Linked DNA regions of Homo sapiens: regions 1, 2, 3, 5, 6 and 7 are each linked to region 4. Evidence: promoter capture Hi-C in 16 types of primary human blood cells and fetal thymus (Javierre and others, 2016). All regions are on one chromosome and are shown on one strand. Each heading gives the region's core, a stretch centred on a gene start or on the middle of the fragment in contact. The rest is flanking DNA. Distances are from core to core; before and after follow the strand shown.

Region 1 (3,574 bases), core at 736-3,235, 880 kb before region 4:
CAAACAATCAAGGTGCTTTGAAATCAGGACTGTCTCAGACTATTTCAACCACCTATCACATCAAATGGTCTAGCATATGGGTAATTGGAATTCCAGATGGAAAAAAGAAAGAATGAGACCGAAAAAGTATTTGAACTTTCTTCAGGAGGCCAAGAATTTTGCAAAATTATTGCAGATATCAAAGCACAAATCCAAGAAACTCAGAGAATACCAAGCAAGGTAAATAACAAAAATCAGCTAGGCATGGTAGCTCATGCATGTAATCCTAGCACTTTGGGAGGCTAAGGTGAGATAATCACTTGAGCCCAGGAGTTCTAGACCAGCTTAGGCAATGTAGTGAGACTGCATCTCTACAAAAAGTTTTAAAACTTAGCTGGGCATTGTGGCACATGCCCATAGTCCCAGCTACTTGGGAGGTTGAGATGGAAGGACTGCTTGTGCCCCGCAGGTCGAGGCTGCAGTGAGCCAGAATCAATCGCACCACTGCACTCCAGCCTGGGGACAAAGCAAAACCCTGTCTCAAGAAAAAATAAAGGTACCAAAAATCTATCAAGCAAAACACATGACACTGAGACTTATATTGCTGGAAACCAAAGGCAGTATATTGTCTCTATTGCAAAGATATGGAAATACCTTTGTCATCAAGAATGCTATGGCCATCTAGATTCAAGTTAATCGCTCTTTTTTGTACAAGGATGACAATGTTGTTTCACTACCTCTCCAGAGCTTCCTCTCCCTCTGATTTATTTCTCTGGTGCACTTCATTGTATTATGTCATGATAGACCTGACAAATCTCATTCTTTAAAGTTGACCCTGTAAGGTCATGTTCTCCAGATATTCACAATCTATTTTAAGAAACTAGGGTTTTGTTTTGTTTTTGTTTTTAGTTTAATGCAGCTCTTACTAGGGCCTTCCTGTGTGGCAAGTACTAAGTGTATATGGATCATCGAATTTAATCCTCATTTTCATGACTACCTTGTTAAAGAAATACTACTATAATTTTTTTTATTTTAGAAACTAAGGATAAAGGAGCTTAAGATAATGTTCCAATTTACCAAGCTAATAAGTGAAACAGCTAGAATTTAAATCCAGGGATTCTTATTCCCTAATCCTACTCTTACCCACTCTGCCATACTGCCTCTTATTAAAAAAAAAATACACCACACACACACAGACTGTACATAATATTTATAAAAGTATATCAGACTTTATTCCCCCTTTTCACTGAGAATTAGTCCAATTTGTGCAAGTTAGGACATATTTTTGTTCCTTTCTCTTTGTTTTCATTAGCCCAGTTGCAACAGTGACCTGGTTGAAATTAGGAAATACTCTTGAATTTGAAGAAACTGAACTGCAAGGCTGTCATGAAGATGCAGCATTCCCTTCACAGACAGATATTTGTGATGCCTTATTTGTGTGAAGATATGTGATAAATCACGAGAGAAGCTTAGTACCCAATTCACAGTGCAGGCTGTGTGGGTAGACTCTTGACAGGGATTTGGGTAAGTTTTAGATATTGCTTATCAGCAAGTTTTTACCCAACTTCACTATGTATTCTGGCTGGCTTCTCTATTTTGGGCAACATGCAGCAACTAGTTTTTAGCATCAGATTTTTTGTGTGTGTGCATGAAGAAAAACAATAAAAGATCAATAAGATGATGGCTTACCAAGGATTTGTGTTATCAGAGGTCATATAGTAGAATCTGAAGATGCTTAATATTTTGGGGTAATTCTGCTCTGATTGTCTTAGTGAATGCCAGCGTCTGTTCTTTCATGCTTTTACATTATCAGACAGGGCTCCTTCTGCCATATCTCCTCCCTTGCTTTCTCCCAACACACACAGGAGAATATTTATGGCTGCCCATTGCTCTTAACTAGAAGGAAAACAAGGCCAGGAATCTCTAAGGGTTAAATGACATTCCATAGATAAAAGGTTGGGGTGTTATCCACACAATAACAGCCTTCAGTCTTTGACCCCATAAGGGGCTTTTCTGGCTAGAGCAGTCCCCTTATAAGCCTCAGTCCTTGGACATTTTGTCACTGTTTACATTTCTATGCAGAAAACATGGAAAAAGTGTTTTCTCCATGATGTTTCAGTGTTATTTCTCCATCTGCCTTTTCTTTGCATCTTACGTATTTCTCTCTCATACTTCGATCTTGCCTTTTATTAAGGGCTCTGCTCCTTAAATGTTCTTTTTTAGTTTCTGTACTTTATCAAAACCTCAGAAGTACCTCCGGTGACCCAACATCTCTGGCATATTAAATCTGAGTGTCAAATGCATGCACTTTCTTTGATATATGATCTAATAAGCCTTTTCTATCTCTAATTTCAATGATTTTGTAATACCAAATTATTTCCTTTTGTGGTGTGTGATTTTTTTTCTTCTCCTCTAACTTCCCTAAGTTCAATAGGTTTTCATAATTAAATGCAGTGGATTGTTTAGAATAAAACCTTGGAAACATGCCTTTTTCTTATGGAAAGACAAGGAAACTGAGCTCTGTAAATCAGAATATTAAGCTTAACATATAATTTATAAGGAAGAAATAAAGGAAATGTAAATCACCCTCAAGTAAGCTCACTTTCATCTTAAAAATTAGATTGAAAATCGTGTGGATACATGTGTAAGTTATGAGAAGACATTCTGAAAATAAAATCTCAAGGTTAAATACAGAAGCACATTTAGTAGATATTTGAGCAATCTCCAGTATCTTCAAAGGTTGTGTATGTGTGTTCAATCCCAGCAATGCATCCCATGACTTAACTCACTTTAAAAGTGAGTTCTCACATATCTAAAAACTCCTCATGAGTTTTTAAATTTTTTGATCTTTTACATGAAGCCCTTGGCTGGACACAGTGGCTCGTACCTGTAATCCCAGCATTTTGGGAGGCAGAGGTGAGAGGATCGCATGAGGCCAAAGTTCGAGACCAGCCAGGGAAACATAGTGAGACCCTGTTTATACAAAAAAAAAAAAAAAGAAGAAGAAGGGAGTCTGTGGCACACACCTATAGTTCCAGTCACTTGTGAGGCACAGGCAGGAGGATCACTTGAGCCTAGGAGTTCAAGGCTACAATGAGCTATGATTGCACTACAGTCTGAGTGACAGAGCCAAACCCTGTCTCTAAAATAAATAAAGCCCAGATCTGTCATAATCCAATGCAGAAATATGTAGGACCTGAGGCGAAAAGGAACCAGTAAGACTATTGCTTTACAATCAAAGAAAATCTGAAATGTTATAAATTCACACTTTCAGCCATGTTCAGTTTTCAAAGTACTCTATGAATAAGGGAGAACTCTAGGAATATTTTCTGCAAACACATTTTCTTTTCATTAGAAGCAAGATACAGAAATGATCTGGATGCTTTGTATTGGGATGATTTGGCACTGGAAAATACAACCCAAACCAAATAAAATTTGATATTCAATTAGAAATTTGTGGTTTTAGACCTAACAATTCTATAACATCATTGTAAGGATGGTGCCATCTAATTGTTCAGTTTAGGCACATTTTGAAGCTATTCTTCACTGTAATAGTGAAGTTGTAACATTTGACATCTTTATGTGGAAGACTTAA
Region 2 (3,583 bases), core at 217-2,716, 770 kb before region 4:
ACTAAGTAGAAACATGATCCCTGAATGGGAGCAATGGATTAGCATGAAATAACTAGTGTTAACTCTTTCAGTTAATGTAATTTAAGCAAAAAGCAAATAAATGTGATGTTTTGACTAATTTGTGAATCATATTATGGGTTAATATGATTTCTTGGCTTTTTCTAAGAAGGAAAAATAGTGCGAGGAGACCCACTGCTACCTTTGAGGGCAACCAGTGGGTAGCCATTGTTTATTCCAGCCCACTTACTGTATGGTGGGTTCCATGGTTCAAGACCAACACACTACAGTTTAAGGCACAGTCAAGGCTAGAGTATAGATCTCTCAATGTCTAGTCTAGCACCCTTTTTGTTTAACTACACTGCTACTTAATAAACTTGTGAGGCTGGAGAGTTTTTAATGCCATTAATTGCAAGATTTTGGAAGTGTGACTGCATTTGAAAGACCATAGAAATAGCACTGTGGTAACCCATTTTCCTCTCTGGATTTTTCATTACATTTTCTTAATATCAAATAGGGCATTTTTTATTTTTGGTCTTATGTGCAGTGCTGTTATATAAGGTTATAATTTTTACTTAGCTGATCCTTTGCAAGCTTACAAGTCATTGAATCTTCCTTATTTGAGTCTTTTAGTGTGAAAAGTGCACACCCAAACCCTTCTGTTTGATCATAGAAACAGACAAGACCTAAAAAGGCTCAGAAGATATCTCTCTTGAATGAATAATTTTGTAAATTTGCTTCTTTCTGATTTGGAAATGTAGTTAGATCTTTCTGATCTAGTTACATTTGGAACCCAAGTCTTTACTCTCTGTATCTCAAAAGAAGCTGGCAGGTAACTCAAATGCACAGTTGGGGACTTAATAAAGCATATTTTTAAATTAATTAAGAGCACACTAACTTTAGAACTATGTCCTTTCAGAACTTTAGGGAGAATGCAGTTGGCATCAAAAAAATGATAACAAAAAATACAGTTACCAAGAATTAGAACAGGTGGCAACAACTTAAGTAGAGTGTCAGCAGCCCTGATTCTGGTTAGCACTGCTGTAAGCTAGAAGCCAGCACAAATGATTGGTCCATCACACATGGCAACATCATATTTTTAAACCACCTGAGCATGCAGTGAATGTGAAGAATGTGTTACCTTTGTTTTTAAAAGCCCTTTGGAGAATGTGGGTTTGCTGAATGCCACCTAGACCCTTCATATCATTCAACTTGCATTTGGAAAATAGAACATTTAACTGCCTGCCATTTTGATCTGCTGCTGCCAAGGAACCTATATGCTGAGGCTGCTTCAGGGGGACATTTGTGTGATCTAGCAGGTGTCTCTCTTTGAACCTATTAATTAGGAAAAGAGCAGAGGCAGATGTGATATATTAGTTGGCCCTAAGATGGATTGCTCTGAAAAATCTCATATTGGCAAGGGTGATTCAAGTTGCCAGGAATCCAAAGTTTGCTGTGTGACATCCCCAGAAGTCTGATGGGGTTTGACTGGTTTACTCCACCAAATGAAACTGCTGAGATGACTGTCTTGAGGTGATTAATAAAGTGCATAAATCTTAACTATGGGAAGAAAAGAAGATGAATTGATGGATGCACATATTGGAAATGTAATGAAACAAAATTGAAGCTACCAGGATTTGCTAATATATTACAGAAAAACAATACTGTGTTTATTGTTCTTCACTGGTCTTATTTTGTTGGCCTCAATTCCAAAATGACCAGGAAGACATGTTAGGTTTTATTTTTCATTTTTCTAGCATGGGAGACCTGAACTGGCAACAAAGTGGGAAAGTAATAATGACATCATATATATGTGCCCCTGGTATTTATTATTTTTTATTTCTCTCATGTTAATGAGGCTAAAAAATTTTTAAAAGATTGGTTCAACTTCCATCAAAGCTGCTATTGAATGCTGTTAGTAATCGTATATGAAGTTTCAGTAGTTTTTGAAGTAATTAGAACCTTGGAGCAAATAAATACTAAATGGACTCTCATCTTCAAAGTTATTTTTTCTAACTAAATAGCTCTGTTCTTGTATAATTATATACTAGTCATGAAATTAAAAATCATTTTAAATGACTAGATGCTTTTTTTAGAAGTGTTTGTTTCTTGCTAGTTATTGTGGACTAATTGTAGTTTATGAGGGTCTTCAAAACATCTGAAATTGCTGCCTTAGATTTCTAGTCTCCAAAGGTTGCAAACTTTAATTCCAATAGAAAAATACAATGATGAGGAAGAGTGTGTAAGGCAATCAAAATTAGAATTTTTGTGATTTTGAAAAAATCTGACTTTTCAAAGATCATAACAGACAGTTATGCAGGGTGATGGCATAAAAAAAGCTTTATTACCACGCGAACCTGAATTTGGCCCCAGCTCCACTAGACACTGTGACCTTTGGCATGTTATTTCATTTCTCTGAGCCTCAGTCTTGGCACCTGTAAAATGGGGATAATAAATAAGTATATTGCAGTATTGTTTTGAGAATTAAAGATAATATCTACAAAATCTTTAGCATGGAGTCCATCATCATAGTTAATAGCTAGTATTATCGTCACTTCTTTTCACCACCATTGTAATTTTTATGATATAAAAATTTACTGCTCATAGGCCCACGCTTGGTCTTCAGGACAGTCAGTCCATGACACCTTGTACCAAGGTTCTTTTTTCCAATGGCAAGTTTGTATCAGAACACGGGATTTAAATTAAACAATCCAGAAAAGCAGAAGCTTTCCATGTCATTTTCCTATCCTTAGGGGCAGCCATCAGGTTAAGCATGGGTAGAAAGTATGACTGTTTAGGCCACATATTTATTAGGGGCTTTTCCATGAACCAGCAGGCTCTCAAGAGCCTATGCACTCATAAATTCATGATGGTCCACACTTTGCCAATATCTCCCTGGGGCAACAAGGAAAACAAATGAAGTGAACAACAATCACAGAAAACCAAACCATGAAATAACAAGGAAAACCCTCGAGATGAGCCTCCTAAATGTCCCTTTCCCCCTAGTCCTTTCTTTCTTTCCTCTTAATTACAAATTGGTATCATGAGTTATACAGGTGAGTAAAAACCGGGCACCACGTGCTTCTGTCAGGAGGCAGAGATGATGAATACCATGTTCAGAATTTCTCTCTAAGTCCCGGCACTATCCCAAATATTTTTATCAATAAAAGATTTTCCTTTACTCGCCCTAGCTCTTTGCTCGGACTTCTTATTTTTCATTTTGCTGTCGGTTTAAAGAATATTCTTCCTGGCCGGGCGCGGTGGCTCACGCCTGTAATTCCAGCCCTTTGGGAGGCCGAGGCGGGCGGATCACGAGGTCAGGAGATCAAGACCATCCTGGCTAACACGGTGAAACCCCGTCTCTACTAAAAATACAAAAAAATTAGCCGGGCGCAGTGGTGGGCGCCTGTAGTCCCAGCTACTCGGAAGGCTGAGGCAGGAGAATGGCCTGAACCCGGGAGGCGGAGCTTGCAGTGAGCCGAGATAGAGCCACTGTAGTCCGGCCTGGGCGAAAGAGCGAGACTCCGTCTCAAAAAAAAAAAAAAAAAAAATATTCTTCCTTACTCAGTTTCTTGTTTCTAGGTAC
Region 3 (3,748 bases), core at 1,202-3,701, 680 kb before region 4:
GAAAGTCACATCTTACATGGGAGCAGGCAAGAGAGAATGGGAGCCAAGGAAAAGGGGAAACTTGTTATAAAACCATCAGATCTCATGAGACTTATTCATTACTACGAGAACAATATGGGGGAAACTGCCCCCATGGTTCAATTATCTCCCACCGGGTTCTCCCCACAATGCGTGGGAATTATGGGAGCTGCAGTTCAAGATAAGATTTGGGTGGGGACACAGCCAAACCATATCATTTGGATATAGCTTTGATCCTTACTAGCTGTGTGATCTTGGGTTAATAATACTTCTGGGCTTCAATTTCCTAATCTATAAAATGGGAATAATTCTACATGTCCTGAGAAGAGGATTGGGCAATGATAAGGGAAAGTGCTCTAAAGTATACTGCACTCCACTTACATCCATGGTTATAAGTGCTTTTTTAATATCCTAAGATTAGACATATCTGCTTTCTCTCAGCTACTAGAGACCATTGTAGGAAACATGGTTATTTAAAGAAGCAGTAACTATGATAAACCTAGTTATCAACTCATGACTCAGGTTCCAAAGTATAATAATTAATTAGGGCTTACTCTTTATTATCATTATTCTTTTTTAAAATTGTATTTTATAGGTTATTCATTATTTTCCAAGGTCACACATTTTCTGGATCTGATTTTAGCCAGGTCTCAAGGATGGTACACTGTGTCAAGTTCCTAGAAATCAATGTTGTTCTTTCAGGCTGTACTGCCCTCCTAGCAGGTCAACCTGGATAGGATCTTACGCACATTGGTGTTTATACCCCTTTCAAAATACTGAAGTGTTTCTCTTAATGAAATTACAAAGTATTTATTTTCAAGGTAGTATTAGTGAGTGAAAACAATCATGATGCTTTAGTTAGTCATGGGGCAATCCTGCAACCCTGTGAGCCTAATTTTTGTTGTTGTTTTGCAAAATACTATGATGACAGTAATAAAAATTCTAGGGCCTTCATTTTCACATACAGTTCTTTTCTATGCATATATATAAGCTTTATATTGTAGTATATCATAACTGTTTCCATGTTGCTACATAATCATAATCATCATAATTAGTATTATTTTAATGGCCATGTAATTATCCATCTTGTTAATGTACCATAATTTACTTAACCTAAATCTTCAACAATAAGAGAGTGGTTGCTTCCAATTTTTCCTCTATGATAAATAACCTCTAGTTTACCTATTTGTGCATATAGCTTCTTTCTTTTTTTTAGATTATTTCCTTAGGATATACTCCTAGGAATGGAATTACTACATTTAGGCATATGCATTTTCAATAATTTTTGAATAAATTGACATTATTTTTCCAGTTGACAATGCCATCAACAATAATAGTATTCTGCTTTCAATACAACCTATCAGAAGTATTATTATTTGATATTTAATACACTTACATAGTACCTTTTATTTTTTCATTTTCTCAAAAATAGCAAATGTTAATCAAACACTTGCTTACAAATAGTGCGTTCTGTCATGTTTTGAAAAGCCAGTTAGTTAGATTTGAGAGCCAGGTTTGAAAACTGAGGTAGATTTTTTTTTCTTTTGCATCAAGAATACCTGCTGTGCTTCTCTCCCATTGTCTGATAGTTTTGTGTATTAGAAACTAATACTGATATTTTTCTGAGCAAAACATTCCATTGTACTCATATAATAATTCTTGAAGACCCATGTATAAGGAACTGTAGGGAGTACCCAAATAAAATAACGGGAACTTTAGACAATTTAAATTAGAACACTCAGGAAAATACATTAATATTTTTATACTAGCACTCCCAAGCCCAAAAGCAGGGTTGCAATTCAATTAGTTTAATCTCTGGTCCGATTTTAATGACTTTCTCTATCTAGTCTCTAACCTTCCCAGCTAATCTGACTTCGCAACTAGCAAACTCAAGAGCTCCAGCCATTCCGCTTCCAATATTTTTTTTCTAGATTGCATCCCAAGAAATCTTTCTGATAAATGAAACCCCCATCTCTCTCCCACAATAAAATGCTTCACACCATCCCCAATCTTACCTTGCACCAGACCAAGCAAATGCATGAACCTTCATAATACATGAAATGGTTTCCCAAACTGCAGCCCCGCCATAGGGCTGGATGCCAATTCCAGAGATCTGGTTTTGCCCTCCCTTCCAGGCAGCTTCACCTATTTCTCAGTTGGGTGTCTTCCATGCCTTGCCAAATGGTAGAAAAAAAAATTTCATGAATATAAGCCACTGTAAATCCATCCTGGCATTGAGTAACCATTATTCTGACTAGAGCTTTCTCTTTGGCCTAAGGGTGTTAGGGTTTGTTTGAATAAGATAATTGCTACATATCAGTGCCTGGAAACATAAAGGAAAGAACTTACCATATTTCCCCCTTTTTCTTCTTGCAGCATCATCTGAGGGTTCTCCATAAACACGGTTAGCCTTCCAAGCTGCTGTCCTGCCAGTTGATATGAACATGGCCTGTTCCTCACAGAAAGACTAACCCATGGCACTGCCAGAAGATATCCTTGGATCGTGGACAGATTAACTGGATTAACTGAAAAAAGCACCCATTCAGTCAATATTATGGGTTTTGGAAAAATCTTGCTTTGCTGTGGATTTAAAATGAGGTGCATAATATAATGCCAACTCATTCCAAGTGGTCATTGGCAGACCATTAGCTGGAAAATTGCTTCCAGTTTTCATCACTGTGCATAACTCAAGTTCCCTTTGGGGAGCTGTCTGTGCCCTTCACTAGAAGTCCTGTTTTAGCATGGCAACTACTGGATTATTTTATTATGTGTGCAGATGGCATGATGTTTTAGAAAAAAAAAATTACAGCAATTCTGCAATCTCAGTGGAAGTGTTCACAATATTATGCCCTGGTAGGAATGTAAACACGTCTCGATTATGTTAGTTATGATGTCTAAAGGTATACTGTCCAACTCTTAAGCACTTTATATGAGAACACTACACCAAGATGAATCAGCACATTCAGCACATGTGAGAAATCAAGTATTTTCTTTTTATTTTTATAAATCTTAGTGGTTTTTTTTTTTCCGGCTCAGACTGTCCAAGACAAACTCCACTACTCGCATATCCCCAGTTGTTTGTGGTAGGTTGATGTAAATATGGCCACAATACTGTTAGACTTCACCTCCAGATACTTTATTGAACAACTGGTTTACTTCTAGCACCAAAGGGAAGAAGAAGGGGGTCCAGTGATGGTGATATCTTAGCTTGCTTCTTTGTTCACAGGCACTATTGACCACATGAACATACAGGTACTCAAATACAGGAGGCTTCTATTTGGCTCCTCCAAGGGAGGAGTTCCTCCAAGGGAAAAAAGGGGATGGTATTCTTTTAATCAAAGACCATGGTGGATGGATGGTAAGGGCAACAGAATGCAATTCTTTTGTGTGGTCTGACGTTAACACTTCGGAAAAAATTCTAAGTCAAGTTGAAATCGCCATTCTCTCAAGAGAGAAACATCAAGAGAGAAACATCAAGTGACCCCACTATGTGCCTAGAGAAGGAAAAGGGTCAAGTCCTATACTAGGTTCCTTACTTAGGGTAGAACCTACTAGTCCCTTGTTAATCCTTTCTGGGATTATACCTGTGACTAATTTTTTTTTTTTTAACTATGTCTTACGACAAAGCACAGTCCTGGGAAACCAGTCAACTTAATTATTGCTTGTCTTTGAGCATTAGAGACATGTTCATATTGACTTGCTACATAACACTGTAGCATGTTTTTTCCTG
Region 4 (3,471 bases), core at 288-2,787:
AGATTTCTTAGGTATGACAGCAAAACCAAAATCTATAAAAGAACAAATCAGTAAGCTGGATTCCATCAAAATTTAAAATGTCTGTTCTTCAAAAGACAGTATTAAGAGAATAAAAAGGCAGGATAGACTGGGAGAAGTATTTGGAAAGCATCAAGACATAACAGGTGTTGATGAGGATGAGGAGAAACTAGAACCCTCAAACAGCAATGTTTACATTCCCACTAGCAATAATCGGGACGTAAAATGGCTCAGGCCACTTTGGAAAAGTTTCTTAAAGTATTAAACAGACATGTACTGCATGATCCAGCAATTCCACTCCTGAATCTGTCCAAGAGAAATGACACATACGTTCACACAAAAATTTGTCAGCAAAAGTTCATAGCAGCATTATTTACAACAGCCAAAAAGTGGAAACAACCCAAATGTCCATCAACAGAAGAAAAGGTAGGCAAATGGTGATACATGGATACAATGGAACATTACTCAGCAATAAAAAGGAAATTATTGATGCATTCTTAGTGAAGGATCTCAGACAAAAAAAAAAGCCCACATACTGTAGACTCCGTTTATATAAAACCCTAGCAAATGCAAATTAATTTATGATTACAGAACGCAGATCAATGGTTGCTTAGCGATGGAAGGTGGGAAGCAAAGATGTCAGAGGGGTATGAAGAAACTTTCTGGGATGATGTGTACACTATTTTGATTGTGGTGATAATTTCACAAGTATACAGACTACAGTACACATATATATCAAAACTTTAGGTGAGTGTAGTTTACTGTATATTAACTATGCCAAAAAAAGGAGGACTGTTTTTTTAAAAAAAATGTAAATTCTTCAACTCCTTGGACCTCCCCAGAAGAAATGCTGGAAAAAACATTTAAAGCAACCTAAAGAGGGAAGTGGAGTGCGACCCATCTCTGCCTTGAAAGGTGCAAGAGTTTACAGAGTAACTAAAGAGCTCGATTGAATCTAAAAAAAATTGGCTTCAATTCTGCAGAAATCTGGTCTGGAAAACATCACCTCTACAAATCCGACTTTTGGGGACACTCTTGAGTGTGAATGGGGGAGACCCTACACCTAAGGTTTGCCCAGGGCAGCCCCGATGACATCCACGGGCCCCACGTAAAGAGGAAACCAGAGGCCCTTTCCCTCCCAGCTGCATCCCCCTGGCCTCGCGCGCCCGCCTTCCTACCTGCATGTTCCTCAGGAGCTGGAAGATCTCCATGGTGCGGTACACGATGTCCTGCACTGTCTCCTGCCCGATGCGGCACAGCGACGCCGTGTTGACTTCCCGGGCGGCCTGCTGAGCCTGGGGCCCGGCGAAGGGCCCGGGCGCCATCCCCGACGCGGCCAACGGAGGGGTGGACATGGCGCGGCTGCAGCTTCAGGCCGGAAGGGGCCAGACAGCAGGTGTCAGGGGTCTGCCCGGAATTGGGAGGCTGTGGGGCCTCAGCGTTGGAACCAGCTTGAGAGACCCCCCGCGGCCCGATTTCAAAACAGCGGCCGCGACTTCCGCCCACTGTGACGTAACACGTCAGAAAACGTCATAGACACCGCCCACTCGGCGAACTGTCTCCGAGCGGAGCCGGGCTGGATTGGATTGGACCCCTGGGCGGGAAAGGACGGACGGGTTAAGTAGCCAATCACCAATTGCGCTCCAGCCAGAGGGGCGATGTTCTTGGGGAGCCTGGGGTGAGTTCCCAGAGTTCGTTTCCCAGTCTTGGCTCAGCGTTAGAACCTTCTGTGTTTAGTTCCTTGCGGAGCATTTTCTCTTAACAAGCCTGAGGTTTGTAGTATAACAGCTAAGAGACAGGTTAAAGTACTTGTTGAGTCGCATACAGGTGTAACTGGCAACCTGCGATTCGAATTCAGAAAACAAGATTCCTAAGCTTGTACGCTTCTCTGTGACATGATACGGACTCCCCGATTGCTCTTGGTCCCTGCTCAGATGTTTTATTCTTTGAGTTTTCCCAGTATCTGTAAGCAAAAAAAATGATCAACACACACACTTCTTTCTGACTCTGGCTCTTATTAGTGTCTGATTTTTTTTTCTTTTTCTTTTTGAGATGGAGTCTCGCTCTGTCACCCAGGCTGGAGTGCAGTGGCGCGACCTCGGCTCACTGCAAGCTCCGCCTCCCGGGTTCACACCATTCTCCAGCCTCGGCCTCCCGAGTAGCTGGGACTACAGGCGCCCGCCACCACGCCCGACAAATTTTTTGTATTTTTAGTAGAGACGGGGTTTCACCGTGTTAGCCGGGATGGTCTCGATCTCCTGACCTCGTGATCCGCCCGCCTCGGCCTCCCAAAGTGCTGGGATTACAGGCATAAGCCACCGCGCCCGGCCTACTGTCTGATATTTTATATAGCTTTCAGTTTGTTTACTTTCAGACTTTATCTCACCCTATCTACACACACTGCCAACTCCATGAAAACAGACTATTTTATTCACTTATTCTCAACACCTAGTGATTGGCACAAGTATCAATAAATACTTATTGAATGATTGTTGAGTGACATGATAAATGCAAGAGAAATTAAAATGTCTCTCACAATGTCTCTCACTTACTGTTCATCTCCAAAGTGGGGAAAAGTGAAGAATGTAAAATTAGTGATAGGCACAAACATTGCATTTTTTAGAAGTATCTGAATGCTCCATTGTACGGACTTTCCAGGAAATAGTTACTAAATATGTCATAGGAACCCTGGTAGAGATTTTAAACATAGTAATTCGCAGGTCTTCGGTAATTACCATTCGACAAATATTGGCTGAGCACCTATTATGTGCTGGGTGCTAGGAGTGAAGATAGCGTACTGAACAAACCAGGCAAAAGCCCTGCAGCATGTTTGTCATGGGGACAAACAGAACACTATTGTGATGAGCGTCTTGAAGCAAAAGTTCCTGATATCAGGGTGCTAACAATTTAGGAGATTGAGAACGACCTGAAGGGAGCAGTGTGGAACCTGAAGGTGGATAGGGAAGGGAGTAACGAATGATAGAGTCTTTTCTATGAGGACGAGGAAGGCCAGTGCCAACACCTGAAGTGAAGAGGCCTCCTAATGCTTTCTAGGATCTGGAAGAAGTTCAGTGTGAGGACGAGTGTTAGGAAATAAGGCTGAAGACAGAGGCAACCCTGGAGGATCTTCTAACCCATGTCAAGCAGTTGAGAATTTATGGAGTGAAATAGCAAGCCATTGAAGAGTTTCAAGGTGAGAGGAATAATTTGAAATATTCATTTTAGAACACTTATTCTGGTTGCTAAATGGGGAACAGATGGTGGGTTTCTATTGTCTTCTCTCCCAAAGGGGAATGATGATGATGATCATGACCTGTGCAGAGAAAGGAGACAGAGGGTAACTTTGAATAAATATTTAGTAAGTAGAATCTAGAGAACTTGATAGTAACTGGATCAGGAACATTAAGGAGAGGAAAGAATTAAGGATGGCACGTATTTCTGCTTTCATGTGAA
Region 5 (3,835 bases), core at 1,311-3,810, 980 kb before region 4:
TTATTTAAGACAGAGTTTCCCTCTGTCGCCCAGGCTGGAGTGCAGTGGTGCAATCTCAGCTCACTGCAATCTCTGCCTCCTGGGTTCAAGCGATTCTTCTACCTCAGCTTCCTGAGAAGCTGGGACTACAGGCACCTGCCACCACGCCCAGCTAATTTTTGTATTTTTAGTAGAGACGGTGTTTCAATATGGTAACCGGGCTGGCCTTGAACTCCTGACCTCAGGTAATCTGCCTGTCTCAGCCTTCCAAAGTGCTGGGATTACAGGCGTGAGCCACTGCGCCTGGCAGGAACAACTGATTTTGATTAAAAGAATCAAGAATGGCTTCACAGAAAGGAACCCATGTCTCTATGTCCTAGGCATGGTTCTAATCACATTTGAGAACAACTGATGTGGAAAGAAAAGATGGAAGAGGAGATTCAAGAACAAGTGCATGCCGGGCGCAGTGGCTCACGCCTATAATCCCAGCACTTTGGGAGGCCAAGGCGGGTGGATTACCTTAGGTCAGGAGTTTGAGGCAAGCCTGACCAACATGGAGAAACCCCGTCTCTACTAAAAATACAAAATGAGCTGGGTGTAGTGGCGCATGCCTGTAATCCCAGCTACTCGGGAGGCTGAGGCAGGAGAATCACTTGAACCCGGGAGGCAGAGGTTGCAGTGAGCCAAGATCGCGCCATTGCCCTCCAGCCTGGGCAACAAGAGTGAAACTCTGCTGTCTCAAAAAAAAAAAAAAAAAAAAAAAAAGGCAAAACTCAGGGGCGTGTATCCTGGGGAGCAGATCAACATCTTCATGTATGTGGGGGGACCGTACAGATCACTGTCTACTCTGATGTGGGAAGAGAAGAGGCATGTGGTTAAAGATGGCATAAAAGGGCACTTTGTTGTGCCGGCATAGAGGACCATGAAGCCATATTAAGGACAGTCTTCTGTAGATGTTGGCTACCCCTGACAACTCTGTTGATTCTCTTGAGGACTAAGAAGTTGGGGAAGTGAGCATCTTTAATTTTTTTCATTACTCAAGGGAAGAGATCCTTGAAGCTCTTGGCCTTCAACTTGGTAATCTTGGAGTCTATGGCCAAGATTTATAAATTATTTGTGCTTTATCCACACTGACTTTTTAGCAGCCTCCAGTTTTCCACATTTTTTCTCTAGCCCTGGCTGACTGTGTTCTCCTTGAACACATAGACATATGAAACTATTCTGAAAGCCTACATATGTTCTAGAAATGTAAAACAGTATTGAATAATATCTGCTTCACTGAAGCTGCAGATCCACTCTCTGAGATAGGCAGGAGAGGTATTATTACCATGTAACTTTGGCTTGAGGAGGTTACATGACGTTGTGGACATGTGGCTAATAAGTCTTGGAGCTGGAAATAGGTCAGGTTAATTGTCCTTGCCACAATTTTTTCACTTCCTCTTATTCTTTACAGTAAGTCACTGTTGTAATCATTAGCTCTAGGTAACAATATTTGCTCCTTCTCTCCCTCTGTGCCTGTAGAAGACTGAACTTTCTGTTCAGTCTGGTTGGGTGGTTCTGGCAAATGAGATATGATGTGTGTCACACTCAGGCTGGAGCAGTCAATTACCAATTTGAGACCAAGTACCCCCTTTCTCTATTTGTGTTCATTATGGAAGCCCATGTTAGGATGAGCCTCTGGCAGTCTAAGTCCTCAAGTGACTATGATAAATTGAGCCTCTATACTGGACATGTAGTGTCAGCAGGAAGTAAACTTGTGTTAAGTCGTACAGATGTGGGGGTTGTTCATTACTGCAGCAGAACCTAGCCTATTCTGACAGATAATAGCCTCCATCAAATTTCCATCTAGATAAGCCAGCATGTATTCACTGGAGAGTGCAGGGGGTGTAAAGTGAACTTGGTGGGGAGATAAAGCATATATGGAAAATACTTCATAGCACAAGACACTATACTGTCTGAGGAAAGGTTCTGTGTTTTGACTGTCCTCTAGGTCTATCTACCATTTCTATGATATATGTCACACCTAATAGGTGCCATGTAGGTATTTGTTGGGTGAATGAGTAAACATATACTTTTATTTTAATGTGAACTCTGTGTATTCTTTCCATCAAGATATATCTTGGCAATATCATTTTTTGTAATCATTTCTATTAATTTTCATATTTTCTGTGCTATACACCATAAGCCATGAAAATTCTAGGTGTGAACACTGACCTTTTCCAGGAATTTAGTTTGGGTAAAGTATATCTGCATTATTATTAAACAGCTAGCGTCATAGATTTTAGAGGAAGAAGAAAGGGGTGCAGTCGTGACATTATTAGAAATTCAGAGCAGTGATTTCGCATTCTGATTTGGTGATATGCCTGGAGCTATCCACATACCTCTAGCAGTGTTGCGAGGTAGTAAATGCTACAGGCATAACATGCCAACAAGCAGATCTTAAATAAAATATATTCGTGTATATTAACTTTCTTATTTTATATTTCATTGCAAACACAATCTCATTCTTCTCTATATTTTTTATACCATAATAATGGACCTGTCTTCAAGGGAACAGCATCTCGTTGTATAAACAGGACCCTTAAGCTGAGACTGTTCCTGTGACTTGGCGGTCATTGAAAAGATTAAATGGGTTGCAAAACACCGTCTTTAAAAGTGAAGGTAAATTTGTCTCAGCTGGAATCAGAAGCCAGCTGGGCCTAAGAATGATGTCTATGTCTACATAGCATATCCTGATATAACACATGCCTTGCCTTGTTTCAGTTCGTTAATTATCTGCTTCCTGTTCTTCTGTTTAATTAGTCCTGTGTTGTTTCATTCTTTCCACTTCCTGACTTTCTTCCTTTCTTTCATATTCTCCATCTGTTTCTGCCTTTGAAAATTTCATTTTGGTTTTTAAGTTTAATTGATGTCTCCTCTGACATCTCAGATTTCATTAGCATTTCTTACTAGATTTGTTACATTCAGTTTAGCCATTTTTACATGTCTGAAAACTTCTAAATCCCTGATCAAGTGTATTCATCCTCAAAATGGCATCTTTTTTAAAAAAAGTAAATAAATGTTCTCAAATGCTGTTCTTTTTTTTTTTTCTTTCCCCCCACCCCCCCCCGCAACTTAAGTTATTTTAGATTCCAGGGGTACATGTGCAGGTATGTTACATTGGTAAATTTTGTGTCGCTGGGGTTTGGTGTACAAATGACTTTGTTACCCAGGTAGTGAGCATAGTGCCCTATAGGTAACCTCCCCCTCCTCCCACACTCCCCTGTCAAGTCGGCCCTGGTGTCTATTATTCCAATCTTTGTATCCATGTGTACTCAACGTTTAGCTCCCACTTATAAGTGAGAACATGAGGCATTTGGTTTTCTATTCCTGCATTAATTCGCTTAGGTTAATGACCTGAAGCTGCATTCATGTTACTGCAAAGAACATTATTTCATTTTTTATGGCTGCATAGTATTCTATGATGTGTATGTACCACATTTTCTTTATCCAGTCCACCGTTGATTGGCATCTAGGTTGATTCCTTGTCTTTGCTATTGTGAATAGTGCTGTGATGCACATATAGGTGCATGTGTATTTTTGGTAGAATGATTTATATTCTTTTGGATACACACCCAACAATGGGATTGCTGGGTCCAATGGTAGTTCTGTTTATAAGTTCTTTCAGAAATCTCCAGATTGCTTTCTACAGTGGCTGAACTAATTTACATTCCCACCAGCAGTGTGTAAGTGTTCCCTTTTCTCTGCAATGTCGCCAACATCTGTTATTTTTTGACTTTTTAGTAATAGCCATTCTGACTAGTGTGAGTTGGTATCTCATTGTTTTGATTTACATTTCTTTAATGATTAGTGGTGT
Region 6 (3,283 bases), core at 115-2,614, 650 kb before region 4:
TTGTTATTGTTGGCTTTGTTGAAGATCAGATGGTTGTAGGTGTGCAGCTTTATTTCTGAGTTCTCTAATCTGTTCCATGGGTCTATGTGTCTGTTTTTGTACCAGCACCCAGCTGGTTAGCCTTGTAGTATAGTTTGAAGTCAGGTAATATGATGCCTCCCGGTTTTTGTTTGTTTTTTTTGTTTTTTTTTTTTTGTTTTTTTTTGCTTTACTGCTAAATTTTTTGAAAGTCATATGGCATTGTGGTTACACAGGTAAAGATCCTGTTCTTTGGAAATATTTGCTGAACTATTTAGAGATAAAATTCCATGATATTTATAACTTATTCTAAATGGTACAACAACAAAAACCCACACATGTACACAAAGAAGTACATAAAGACATGCACACATAGAGGGGAAAAAGAAAGCAAGTGTGGCATTATGTTAATACTGATGGATTTGGGTGATGAGAAAATGCATATTCATTGCATATTATTTTTTTCTGTAGATTTGAAATTTATCCATATAAAATGGGGAAAAAATAATTTCTTCACCCCCACTTTTTACCTTTTTATCTTGCTTTATTTTGTGCAGTGGAACTAAAATTCTCTGAAATTTTGTATTTCTTTATTTCATTGATTATTTGGATCGTCTTCCTCCACTGGAATGTCAGCTCCTGGAAGTGGAGCATTTGCCAGTATAGTAAAATGAACCACTTTTTCCCAAGCACCTAGACCCAAACAACACTCAGTTAATAGTTATTAAATAGGTGAATGAATGAATGGCCCACGCAGATACACTTGACCCATGCCATGTCCCAGTCTCCTTAGAAGTGAGTCAGAAAAAGGTGCCTTGAACACCTCTTGTCTCCCAACAACCAAAAGGCCCTCAAAACAACCCCAAAAATCAACAAATCTGAACTGAGTGTCCTCACACATCCTGAGGATCTGCAAAAACAGGGAGCCTTCAGTCTCACTGGGGACATTAAACAGGTCCACATGCAACAAATGACTATGACAGCCCTTTTAACTTTACAAAAGCACTTTGGCAAACATTGCCCCATTGAATCCTCAGATCAATCCCACAGGATAGGTAAAATTATTAGCCTATTAACAGAGGAGGGGGCCAAAACCCAGAAGCAGCTTGCATGATTTCCCCAAGGTCCAGTACTTTTAACTGGCAGGACCAAGATTTGAACTGTACTGACTCAGAACAATTTTTTCTTTTTACTACACATCAGTCCATCTAAAATATTATTTAAAATTACTAACAGGCAGTATTTTTAATTGCCAGATAAGTTATGAATATATATATATATAGGCTGGATGTGTTGGCTCATGCCTGCAATCCCAGCACTTTGGGAGGCCAAGGCAGGCAGATCACCCGAGGTCAGGAGTTCAAGACTAGCCTGGCCAACATGGTGAAACCCCGTCTCTACTAAAAATACAAAAATTAGCCAGGTGTGGTGGCACGTGCCTATAGTCCCAGCTATGCGGGAAGCTGAGGCATGAGAATCACTTGAACCCAGGAGGCAGAGGTGGCAGTGAGCTGAGATTGTACCACTGTATTCCAGCCTGAGCAACAGAGCAAGACTCCATCTCAAAAAAAAAAAAAAGTTATGGATATGTATATAATTTAATATAATAAATATAAATATATAATCTATAGTTAAATATATAGATTATATATATATATAAATATTAGATAATGGTCAAGAACACATCCAAAAATAGCCCATCGCATAAAAGAAAACAGAGGCTGCTTGTCTAAAAGACAGGGCCTTGTAATGTACAATGACAGCTACTTGCTTTGTCAATAAGATGGAGGTTCCAGGGGCACCAATTTTAAGCTAAGCCTCTGGGTCCCTTAAGGCAAGTGCCTCTGTTCCTTAATCCACCAGCTTGCCCTTCTGCTCTCCACCTCCATAAAGACAGTCAGCCCATTACAGCGGCAGGCCTAACATGATAGTCTGACAACACCTAACACGTTGTAAGCTACACAGAACCCTGCCTCGATCAATACTTGGATGGAAGGCAAAGAAATAAAAAGAAATTTCAGGCATGGCAAGGAATAGTGTTGTTCACTCAGGAGGTTGCATTCTAAACCATGTGTCAATACTGTACCACTTGTCCAACAGGAAAGGGGAGCTTGTTGAAAAGTATGATTCCTATCTTATGCAAGGGACAGAAAACCCTATTCCTAGGAACTGGCACATTATGGTAAGTGAAATAAGCCAGTCATCAAAGGACAAATATCGCATGATTCCACCAGCACGAGGACAAATACCATCAAATTCCTAGAAGCAGAGAGTAGAATTCTGGTTACCAGGGGCTGGAAGGAGGGATAAATGGGGAGTTGTTGTTCAAATGGTATAAAGTTTCAATTCTGCAAGATGAATAAGAGAGGTCTGTTGTACAGCAGTGCCTATAGTTAACAAAACTATATTGTATACAGAAAAATTGTCAAAAAGGAGCTCTCAGGTGCTCTTATCACAAAAAAAAGGAAAGAGAGGCAGAAGCAAACTTTTGGAGGTGATGGATATATTTATTACTCTGTGGTAACGGTTTCATGGATATATGTGCATGTTCAAGCTCATCAAGTTGTATACATTAAATATGTGCAGATTTTTATATATATCAATTACACCTCAATAAAACTGTTTTAAAAACCCAATAGTACCTTCCAGTTAGAAAACAATGCCTTTTGGCCAAGGTTCAACTCAGCTAATTACATTCCCATCCAAATTTCCAATGGTCTCCAATTTGCTCAAACAGGCATGCAGACTTTGACTGCTGTAAAATATAGTGTTAAGCAGGACCAAAGCAATGATCAAATATATATTCTATATGTTAAAAACCTTTACTGAGGAAACTGACTATAAAGTCTAACATTCAAGACCTGTTTCAGGTTTCTTTTTCTTTCTTTTTTAAAAAACAACCATATTGAAATTAAACAATACATACAATTCCCTCATTTTAGTTTATTTTATTTTTAATTTTACTTTAAGTTCTAGGGTACATGTGCACAATGTGCAGGTTTGTTACATATGTATACATGTGCCATGTTGGTGTGCTTCACCCATTAACTCGTCATTTACATTAGGTATATCTCCTAATGCTATCCCTCCCCACTCCCCCTACCCCACGACAGGCCCCGGTGTGTGATGTTCCCCACCCTGTGTCCAAGTATTCTCATTGTTCATTTCCCACCTATGAGTGAGAACATGCAGTGTTTGGTTTTCTGTCCTTGCGATAGTTTGCTCAGAGTGATGGTTTCCAGCTTTATCCATGACCCTACAAAAG
Region 7 (3,571 bases), core at 541-3,040, 900 kb before region 4:
TAACGTCACAATTCCTAAGTTTGGCTTATGAGGTTTTTCGTCAGCTTCATTTTAACCATTACAACAATCCATCCTGTCCTGAAACCACAGCACATCACTCTCATTCTTGCCTCAGTATTAGCTTCGTGAACTTTTGGTCATTTTCAGGTGCTGACTGTAATTATTCCCCTCCTCCCTACCCTCTCTGGACCTCTCCAAGCAAAACTAATTTTTCCATTCTGTGTTTGCTTTACATTTTACACAATTAATAAATGACAGCTATTATTGTTAGTATTATAACATTTATCACGATATTAAAGTTATTTGGTTCCATGTTTATCTCCCTCCCACCAGCCCAGAAACTTCTCTAAGGTAGAAATTGTGTCTGATTTATCTTACTATCTCTAGCTGTGTTAACCCAGTGCCTGGCATAAAGTAGGCATTTAATAAGTGTTGATTGGATTAAATTGGGTTTGTTCTTCCTTTGATAGTCTTAGCACTGAACTAAAAGCCTTTCTTCATTTCTGTTGATAAGAATACTTTGATTAGTCTTTCAGTTTCCTGATTTTGCCTCCTTTTCATGAAGCTCATCCTATACTTCCCTATCTGCAACTTCTTACACTTACATTCCATTGATGTTCCAGTCGGTCTTCCTGTCTTGTTCTTGGAGAAACCCCATTTTACTTTTTTAAAGAACTCCTATTTTGGATCTGCACTAAGCCCCAGAATATCATCTTCAAGTGCGATTGAATGACAGTCTCCAAATTTTGTAGCATCCTGAGCCCCATGTTCCCTTCAGCAGTTCTTCCCAGGATGTTGTGGTAGACTGTGTCAGAACTTTGCTCAGTGCCAAGAGTGATTGTCGCAGTGCTGTGAAAGCTCACTGAGTCTGCTGAAATTTAAGTCAGGTGCTGTTTTGTAGGGTGGAAGCAAATATCCTTTATCTAAAAAGCTTCTATTTAGGGCAGCAGGAAAGAGGCCCTAATCTGTCACACCATAGGTGCATTGAATGCAGATTTCCCTGTGTTACACAAGTAACAAAGTGAAATACAAATACAGTGTTTTGTTTCATACACCCAAAGTGTCCACATTTGGATAGAACAATGCTATTAATAGATTTTGGTTTCCAGCCGTTTGTGGCAATTTAGCTAACCCTAAAACTACCTTGGTGACATTGATAGATACAAGCTCAGCAATTACAACTTAAACAAGAGCAATGAGAATAGTAAATGGCTAAAGTATGATTACATTGAGCCATATAAAATTGCCAATATTGAACAATTTTGACTAGCAAAAATGGCAGTTTCATTAGATTTGCCATGAAATCAGAATAATGCATTTTATTTAAAGGAAGTAGAAAATAAGTAGGAGCATAATATTTATTGAGCATCTACTATATGCCAAACACAGTGTTTAGCACCATTTATGTATTAAATCATTTAATTTTCATAAAATGTCTAAGATGTGTTATCCATCTCATTACACATGAGGAACCTGAGGTGTGAAAGTTATGACTTCCCTAAGCTCACACAACTAGTAAGGTAAAATAGGTAAGACCATATTAGGAGGATTCTTCTAAACTGGGTTTAGGCAAACTTTTTTTGTAAAGGACCAGATAGGAGAGCCATTTGGCTTTGTAGGTCGTAGGGTCTTTGTCACAACTGCTAAACTCCATGTTTGTAGTATATAAATGAAAGAAGTGGTTGTATTCCAATGAAACTTTATTTACAAAAACAGGTGGCAGGCCAGATTTAGCTCAGAGGGTCGTAGTTTGCCAACCCCTATTCTAATCTCTTCTTCCCTTTGCCCAAATCAAATCTGTTTCCTTAGTGATATTTATAAAAGAAATTTAGAATTCTTTTCTAAAAATGTGCTACTTTTTTTTCCTTTTTACATACTAAATGTAGGAAAATTAGAAACTGTACATACACAAAAAATAAAAAATATAAAATTCCCCTCTAATTCTTACATCCGGAAATAATCTCTTATGTAAACATTTTGACATCTATCCTTTCAGATAGTTTTCTCTATACGAATATTTATTTCTAAGAATGGCATCATACCTTAAAGGGGTGGCATAGTTCTCTCTCTTCCACTAAAAAATAAAATACATTGTGCATGAATTTCTGTGTCAGTGGTTGAATACAAAATATGTTATTTGACTGTTTGCAGTTATTCCCTGGATGCGGTATATGTGTCTGTTTTCCAGATACATTGTACATCTGGTCCCATGTGCTTCTCCATTCAACCCCTGTCCCCGCTTCTTTGGCTGGGTCCATGGCCCAGATTATTAGGTTGTACTGTGAATTCTTCTACCTCCTACCCTCCTATATATACACACACAAACACACACAGAGGCACATGCAAAACATAGCACCACAAACCTTCCATCTCCACATCAATTAGCCCTTAGTTGTAAGAGTCCCGATTTTCTTTCTCTAGCAATTTGTACCTTGATAGTTATCAGATTTCTTCACTTTTCCCATGATTGTGGCCAGTCACCAGAGTGAAAACAGACCTAGGTAAATGAGCAGCAGAAGAAATCATACGTCTCCAAGGCCCTGTCACTGTCCTCTGTAGATGCCACCCTTGAGGGCAGTGTAATTTCTTTGAAAGTTTTCTTTCTGTCAGCCTCTCTCTTCTCCAAGGTTCTTCCAAAAGAGAAGCTTGCACAGCTTTTCTGCAATTCATTAAATTTTCAGCATCTTTCCCCAGTGGTAGGTACACAGCAGGTAACATAGACAGGAGGACATTAGAATTCCTTCCAAGGGAGCAGTTTCAAAAGGTCACATGTTGCCACAGTGTCCTTCTATATAAATCTTTCAGGGGATGGTGAAGCATGTATCTAGTGGGGGAAGATAGGACTGCTGTAGTTATTCCATAAGGATCTTAACCTTAAAACTTCCACTTAGTAATACATTCACAGTGATGATCAGTTCAGCACATAGAAAAATGGGGACAAGATATACTTACCTTTGCAAAATGAGCTCCCACTAAGTTCAAGTAAAAGAATAGCCTCTCTCCCAACAAATGAAGAAAGCTACAGAGCAAAGGATGAAGTGATGGCTGGGGCTGAAAAACGGTACCACTGTAGAATATAAAAGGGAAGCCACTTAGTGTCTCTAAACAATTTCCTGAACATACTCAGTTAACTATTCTGAGGAAGTCCCCAGAATCTTACAGGTTTTGTTATCCACAAGAAATTTCCCACTGATATTTGTATCATACTTGAACTTTATAAAGTGATATTTCACACACATTTTCAAACCTCAGACCCCTGTTGATAGAATATTAGTGTGAAACTCTTTTCAAATGAGGAATCTAGAAGCTCAGAGATATTAAAAAACGACAAAAAAAAGAAAAATTGACCCAGACCCCATAGCCAGCAGATGGCAGTACTCAGCTCCTCTGACACCTAAGGCTTTTTTTTTTCTGCTTCCAGTTCAAGGACAATTCCTTCCATCATTTTTGCTTTGTCAATTAAATACTCAGCACATTCACAGTTGACTAGAATAGAGCCTTCTATGCTGTTAACATGCAAACTAGAGGGGAAGACTTTTGACACCAAGAATGAGATTGTCCTAGGAGAACC

Evidence for each region. Contacts are between HindIII fragments. The CHiCAGO score rates a contact against its expected background, and 5 or more counts as called.
Region 1: a contact is called between a fragment that was not itself captured here and the fragment with the promoter of MED30 in region 4, in 3 of 17 cell types (M2 macrophages, endothelial precursors and M0 macrophages). The highest score is 6.2, in M2 macrophages.
Region 2: a fragment that was not itself captured here is called in contact with the fragment with the promoter of MED30 in region 4 in 1 of 17 cell types (monocytes); the score reaches 7.5 in monocytes.
Region 3: a fragment that was not itself captured here is called in contact with the fragment with the promoter of MED30 in region 4 in 2 of 17 cell types (fetal thymus and monocytes); the score reaches 8.7 in fetal thymus.
Region 5: a fragment that was not itself captured here is called in contact with the fragment with the promoter of MED30 in region 4 in 1 of 17 cell types (M2 macrophages); the score reaches 6.1 in M2 macrophages.
Region 6: a fragment that was not itself captured here is called in contact with the fragment with the promoter of MED30 in region 4 in 1 of 17 cell types (fetal thymus); the score reaches 12.1 in fetal thymus.
Region 7: a fragment that was not itself captured here is called in contact with the fragment with the promoter of MED30 in region 4 in 6 of 17 cell types (fetal thymus, M1 macrophages, M2 macrophages and 3 more); the score reaches 13.6 in fetal thymus.

What each region holds. Positions count from the first base shown.
Region 1 is chr8:118,400,945-118,404,518 of GRCh38, reverse strand. All of the region lies in intron 3 of SAMD12 (sterile alpha motif domain containing 12), which reads left to right. The region is part of intron 5 of LOC105375724 (a long non-coding RNA gene); the gene reads right to left. Among named protein-coding and RNA genes, the nearest start is that of SAMD12-AS1, 220 kb to the left of the region's middle. The HindIII fragment of the contact is 1,072 bases long and covers 1,450-2,521 here.
Region 2 is chr8:118,287,088-118,290,670 of GRCh38, reverse strand. It overlaps LOC105375724 (a long non-coding RNA gene), which reads right to left. Exons shown (of 7, transcript XR_001746062.2): 3 at 2,346-2,432. It also overlaps a transcript of SAMD12 not described here. Among named protein-coding and RNA genes, the nearest start is that of EXT1, 180 kb to the right of the region's middle. The HindIII fragment of the contact is 1,745 bases long and covers 594-2,338 here.
Region 3 is chr8:118,196,379-118,200,126 of GRCh38, reverse strand. It overlaps a transcript of SAMD12 not described here. Among named protein-coding and RNA genes, the nearest start is that of EXT1, 86 kb to the right of the region's middle. The HindIII fragment of the contact is 2,879 bases long and covers 1,012-3,748 here.
Region 4 is chr8:117,518,779-117,522,249 of GRCh38, reverse strand. It overlaps MED30 (mediator complex subunit 30), which reads right to left and starts at 1,537. Exons shown (of 4, transcript NM_080651.4): 1 at 1,197-1,537. The coding sequence starts at 1,373. LOC105375716 (a long non-coding RNA gene) reads left to right here and starts at 1,530. Exons shown (of 7, transcript XR_928569.3): 1 at 1,530-1,696; 2 at 3,073-3,211. The HindIII fragment of the contact is 1,953 bases long and covers 1-1,895 here.
Region 5 is chr8:118,496,977-118,500,811 of GRCh38, reverse strand. The region is part of intron 2 of SAMD12 (sterile alpha motif domain containing 12); the gene reads left to right. Among named protein-coding and RNA genes, the nearest start is that of SAMD12-AS1, 120 kb to the left of the region's middle. The HindIII fragment of the contact is 5,867 bases long and covers 1-3,835 here.
Region 6 is chr8:118,171,947-118,175,229 of GRCh38, reverse strand. It overlaps a transcript of SAMD12 not described here. Among named protein-coding and RNA genes, the nearest start is that of EXT1, 62 kb to the right of the region's middle. The HindIII fragment of the contact is 8,861 bases long and covers 1-3,283 here.
Region 7 is chr8:118,419,044-118,422,614 of GRCh38, reverse strand. The region is part of intron 3 of SAMD12 (sterile alpha motif domain containing 12); the gene reads left to right. LOC105375724 (a long non-coding RNA gene) reads right to left here. Exons shown (of 7, transcript XR_001746062.2): 6 at 2,953-3,067; 7 at 1-2,824. Among named protein-coding and RNA genes, the nearest start is that of SAMD12-AS1, 200 kb to the left of the region's middle. The HindIII fragment of the contact is 1,714 bases long and covers 934-2,647 here.